Regions from separate parts of the Homo sapiens genome. Here region 1 is linked to region 2. Evidence: promoter capture Hi-C in 16 types of primary human blood cells and fetal thymus (Javierre and others, 2016). All regions are on one chromosome and are shown on one strand. Each heading gives the region's core, a stretch centred on a gene start or on the middle of the fragment in contact. The rest is flanking DNA. Distances are from core to core; before and after follow the strand shown.

What was found. The method cuts DNA at HindIII sites, captures the fragments that hold promoters and counts their contacts. A CHiCAGO score of 5 or more calls a contact.
Region 1: a contact is called between a fragment that was not itself captured here and the fragment with the promoter of SYCE2 in region 2, in 1 of 17 cell types (erythroblasts). The highest score is 5.4, in erythroblasts.

What each region holds. Positions count from the first base shown.
Region 1 is chr19:12,810,194-12,813,056 of GRCh38, forward strand. It overlaps RNASEH2A (ribonuclease H2 subunit A), which reads left to right. Exons shown (of 8, transcript NM_006397.3): 5 at 1-15; 6 at 124-211. Among named protein-coding and RNA genes, the nearest start is that of RNASEH2A, 5.0 kb to the left of the region's middle. The HindIII fragment of the contact is 8,146 bases long and covers 1-2,863 here.
Region 2 is chr19:12,917,828-12,920,749 of GRCh38, forward strand. It overlaps SYCE2 (synaptonemal complex central element protein 2), which reads right to left and starts at 1,466. Exons shown (of 6, transcript NM_001105578.2): 1 at 1,416-1,466; 2 at 395-510. The coding sequence starts at 1,430. It overlaps MIR5695 (microRNA 5695), which reads left to right and starts at 2,493; the gene lies at 2,493-2,577. RefSeq lists an enhancer at 1,146-1,285. The HindIII fragment of the contact is 4,677 bases long and covers 1-2,922 here.

The sequences.
Region 1 (2,863 bases), core at 1-2,500, 110 kb before region 2:
AGCATCTGTGCCAAGGTCAGTACCCTACTAGCCATGGCTGGCTTCCACCATCCCACTATATAGGGGCCAGGCATGGCCACCAAAGGGAAGGAGGGAGATTCCAGGTGCCTGTTTTGCCCACAGGTGGCCCGGGACCAGGCCGTGAAGAAATGGCAGTTCGTGGAGAAACTGCAGGACTTGGATACTGATTATGGCTCAGGCTACCCCAATGGTGAGCAGACACGTGACCATGGTACTAATGTTGAAATGGCCAGGGCTGAGCACACTTCTGAGGTTTTCTTTTTTTCCTTTCTGTCATTTATCATTTTATTTTGCTTATTTTTTGTTTTTATTTGTTATTTTTGTTTATTTTTTGAGACGGAGTTTCGCTCTTTTTGCCCAGGCTGGAGTGTAATGGTGCGATCTCGGCTCACCGCAACCTCCACCTCCTGGCTTCAAGCGATTCTCCTGCCTCAGCCTCGCGAGTAGCTGGGATTACAGGCATGTGCCACCACACCCAGCTAATTTTGTGTTTTTAGTAGAGACTAGTTTTCTCCATGTTGGTCAGGCTGGTCTTGAACTCCTGACCTCAGGTGATCTGCCTGGCTCAGCCTCCCAAAGTGCTGGGATTACAGGCATGAGCCACCGTGCCCAGCCTATTTTTTGTTTTTATAGAGATGGGGTCTTGTCATGTTGCCCAGGCTGGTCTCAAATTCCTGGAGTCAAGCAGTCCTCCCACCTTGGTCTTTCAAAGTGCTGGGATTACAGCCATGAGCCACCACCCCTGGCCCTTTTTTTCTTCTTTTTTTAAAGAGATGGGGTCTCCCTATGTTGCCCAGCCTGGTCTTGAATTCCTGGGCTTAAGTGATCCTCCTGCCTTGGACTCCCAAATAGCTAGGATTACAGGTGTGAACTACTGTGCCTGGCTGGAGGTTTTCTAAATTGCTCTGGTCACCCTACTCCACAGTGAAAGAGGCCAAGTGTTAGACAGTGGTGCCATTTGTTTATGGCCACACAGCCAGTGAGTGATAGAGCTGAATTCCAGGCCATAGGATTGCTGCTGTCTTCCCCGCTTCCCACTTTGCTGTCTTTCTGGAGCCCCAGTGATGGACTGAGACCCAAGGTGGGCATTTGTCCCTTTGTTAAGGGGAAGGGGACCAGGCGTGGTGGCTCATGCCTGTAATCCCAGCACTTTGGGAAGCTGAGGTAGGAGAACCGCTTGAGTCCTCGAGTTCAAGACCAGCCTGGGCAACATAGCGAGACCCCCATCTCTATAAAAAATTTAAAAAATTAGCCGGTTATAGTGGTGCCCACCTGTAGTCCCAGCTACTCTGGAGGAGGAGGCTAAGGTGGGTGGGTTGCTTGAGCCCAGGAGTTGGAGGCTGCAGTGAGCTATGATTATGCCACTGCACTCCAGCCTTGGTGACAAGATGAGATCTTGTGTCAAAAAAAAAAATAATGTTAGCCAGGCGTGGTGGCTCACACCTGTAATCCCAGGACTTTGGGAGGCTGAGGCAGGTGGATCCTTTGAGGTCAGGAGTTCTAGACCAGCCTGACCAACGTGGTGAAACCCCATCTCTACTAAAAATACAAAATTAGCTGGACGTGGTGGCACACGCCCGTAATCCCAGCAACTCGGGAGGCTGAGGCAGGAGAATTACTTAAACCTGGGAGGTGGAGGTTGCAGTGAGCCGAGATCGCATAATTGCACTCCAGCCTGGGAAATGAGCAAAATTCCATCTCAAAATAATAATAATAATAATAATAATAATATTTAATGACAGGCTGGGCCAGGTGGCTCATGCCCGTAATCCTAGCATTTTAAGAGACAGAGGCAGGTAGATCATGTGAACTCAGGAATTCACAACCAGCCTGGGCAATATGACAAGACCCCATCTCTACAAAAAATACAAAAATTAGGTGTGGTGGTGCGCACCTGTAGTCCCAGCTACTTGGGAGGCTGAGGTGAGAGGATGGCTTGAGCCTGGGAGGCAGAGGTTGCATTGAGCTGTGATAATGTCACTGCACTCCAGCCTGGGTAATAGAGCGAGACCCTATCTCAAAAAAATAAAAAGGCTGGGTGTGGTGTTTACACCTGTAATCCCAGCACTTTGGGAGGCTGAGGTGGGTGGATCACCTGAGGTCAGGAGTTTGAGACCAGCCTGCCTGTCCAATATGGTGAAACCCCGTCTCTACTAAAAATACAAAAATTAGCCAGGTATGGTGGTGGGTGGCTGTAGTCCCAGCTACTTGGGAGGCTGAGGCAGGAGAATCGCTTGAACCTGGGAGGCGGAGGTTGCAGTGAGCCGAGATCGCACCATTGCACTACAGCCTGGGTGACAGAGCAAGACTCCATTTCAAAAAATAAGTAAATAAAATAAAAATGTTTAATGACTTGTTCTTGGAGGTCAAGGAGATGTCTCAGAGGCAGTCTCCCTGCACTGCCCTTTTAGCAGCTCTTGGCCAGGTAAAGGTCCTGTGGCAAGAAGGTGCTTCAGACCATAGGAGGTGCCCCAGGTACTCAGGAGGAAGCCTTAGAAGAGCGGCAAGGAGGCCGGGCGTGGTGGCTCATGCCTGTAATCCCAGCACTTTGGGAGGCCGAGGGGGGTAGATCACGAGGTCAAGCAATTGAGACCATCCTGGCCAACATGGTGAAACCTCGTCACTACTAAAAACACAAAATTTAGCTGGGCATGGTGGCATGCGCCTGTAGTCCCAGCTACTTGGGAGGCTGAGGCAGGAGAATCGCTTGAATCCGGGAGGTGGAGGTTGCAGTGAGCTGAGATCGCGCCACTGCACTCCAGCCTGGCTACAGAGTGGGACTCCATCTCAAAGAAAAAAAAAAGAGTGGCAGGGAGCTTGAATGTTATGGTGCAACTTGGAC
Region 2 (2,922 bases), core at 216-2,715:
TTTGTATTTTTAGTAGAGACGGGGTTTCTCCATGTTTGTCAGGCTGGTCTCAAACTCCCGACCTTAGGTGATCCACCCGCCTTGGCCTCCCAAAGTGTTGGGATTACAGGTGTGAACCACTGCACCTGGCCAATATTTTTTAATAAATTGGCCCGACATTCTGGCCCGCCTCTAGTCCCAGCCATTTCGGAGGCTGAGGTGGGAGGATCACTTGAGTCTGGGAGGTGGAGGTTGCAGTGAGCCGTGATCATGCCACTGCGTGGTGACAAAGCAAGACGCTGTGTTAGGAGGGAAAAAAAAAGCAGCAGACACTGGCATAGCCTTGTGGAAGAAAAGGGTGAATGAGAGGGACCCAGGGGCCTGTGTAGACCCATAGGGCTGGGATCTTCCTCACCTAGCTGGCCCTCCACCAGCTTCCTCCTCGCAGTTCTCTTCCCACCGCGGATGCTCCTTGCTCTCCCCCAAGGGCTGCGGTTCCTGGTCTTTGCATTTCACATGGGGCACGTCCACCTGCAAGCACAGTCAGGACGGAGGCCAAGGAGGGAGGATGAGGAGTGAACAGATCGCCCTCCTGCCGACCCTTCAACCCTGGTCACCTCGATGTGCTGCTGCGGGACGGTGGGGACCCGCAGGAAAGACGGGCAGGGCTGGGGCAGGTGCCATGAGGGCAGGGGCATGGGGTGAAAGGACACTCTGTCCCTAGGGGACACCAGGACACCAGACCTAGAGGGGCCGGGTGAGGGCAGGGCTGTGGGAATGTAACTGGAGGACCTGGGCTCCTAACTGGTATGTGTGTTGGCTGGAGTCCTTCGAGAAAGGAGAAGAGGTAGGAGAAAAGAGATGAGGCCGGGCGCGGTGGCTCACGCCTGTAATCCCAGCACTTTGGGAGGCGGAGGCGGGCGGATCACGAGGTCAGGAGTGCGAGAACAGCCTGAGCAATATGGTGAAACCCCGTCTCTACTAAAAATACAAAAATTAGCTGACGTGGTGGTGCGTGCCTGTAATCCCAGCTACTCGGGAGGCTGAGGAAGGAGAATCACTTGAACCCGGGAGGCAGAGGTTGCAGTGAGCCGAGATCACGCCACTGCACTCCAGACTGGGCGACAGAGTGATACTTCGTCTCAAAAAAAAAAAAAAAAAGAAATGAAAGAAACGGGTGCGGTGCGTGGGTGTTTGTGCCTTTCTCTACTCCGTTCCGGCCACGCGCCATGTGTGGAAATCAGACCCGTCAGTGCGTCAGTCAGGGCCGGGTTCAGTCAGTCAGGAAATTTGAGGCCAGGCCTGATGAGAGGGAGCCCCAATGGCAAAGGACAAGCGGCCGGGCTCGGGTCCGCTGGAGATGGCTGGGATCGCAGCCGTTCCCTGCCTATCTGTCCGCCCGCCCCACGCGCGAGAAGGAAACAAGCGCCGCGTACTCCCTGTCGCTCCATTCCGTATTTTCCCGCCTTCAAGCTCGCACCCTCTGCGCATGCGCCGACCCCGCCCCTGGCCAGCTGCGCTCCCGCGGACGAGTGTGTTGTGACGCGTGCTCCCGGCCCCGCCCTCTTTGAGAACTTGCGCGGCCAACTGGGCGGGGCCGACCGTTAAGCAGCAGTTTCGCGGTCCGCGGGCTGCGCGCGCAGTCGGCGCCCCTTGGGAGCAGGACGGCGCGCTCTGGGTGCGCTTGTGTGCCCCTGTGAGGCTCCTGGGTTCCACGGGGCGCCCAGGTTATACGGATCTCAGAGTCCTGTATTTATTCGGTGCTTCTAACTTCATCCACTCTGCCTTGGAAAATATACTCCATAACAATTTTTTTTTTTTTTTGAGACAAGATCTTGGTCTGTCGCCCAGGCTGGAGTGCAGTGGTGCGATCACAGCTCACTGTAGCCTCGACCTCCCAGGTTCAAGCGATCCTCCTGCCTCGGCCTCCTGAGTAGCAGTGTCATTCACCAGGCCCTTCTAATTTAAAAATATTTTTCTGGCCGGGCGCGGTGGCTCACGCCTGTAATCCCAGCACTTTGGGAGGCCGAGGCGGGTGGATCACCTGAGGTCATGAGTTCGAGACCAGCCTAGCCAACATGGTGAAACTGTCTCTACTAAAAATACAAAAAATAGCCGGGCGTGGTGGCGGGCGCCTATAGTCCCAGCTACTCGGGAGGCTGGGGCAGGAGAATTGCTTAAACCCAGGACGCAGAGGTTGCAGTGAGCTGAGATCATGCCACTGCACTCCAGCCGGGGTGACAGAGTAAAGCTCCGTCTCAAAAAAAAAAAAAAGATTGTATGTATATATACACACACACACACACACACACACACACATAATTATATTTTTTTTTCCTGTAGAAATGAGATCTCACTGTGCTGAGCCCAGGCTGATCCCCAACTCCTGGGCTCAAGCCGTCCTCCCGTCTTGGTCTCCCAAAGTGCTGTCTCAAAAAAAGAAGAAATTATCTGATCTACCCTATTGACTGTAGGTCATAAGACCCCCGTTTCAAAGAAGTTTCTGCCCCACACAAGGCCTATCTATCTAGATTCTTCTTGGCCTCTCTGAGCATGCATTCCTGAGACTCCAAGAAGAATCTAGACAGATAGGCCTTGCTGGGTTTCCCCACTCAGCCTATTAGTATTAGACGACCCCCCCGGCTTTTTTTTTTTTTTTTTTTTTTTGTCTTGCTCTGTTGTCCAGGCAACACTGGAGTGCAGTGGCAAGATCTCAACTCGCTGCAACCTTGGCCTCCCAGGTTCAAGCGATTCTCAGCCAACCAAGTAGCTGGGATTACAGATGCACCATGCCCAGCTAATTTTTGTATTTTTAGTAGAGATGGGGTTTTTCCATGTTGCTCAGGCTGGTCTCAAACTCCTGGCCTCAAGTGATCCACCCGCCTCAGCCTCCCAAAGTGTCAGGATTACAAGTATGAACCACGACAAACCCTTTTTGTCCAA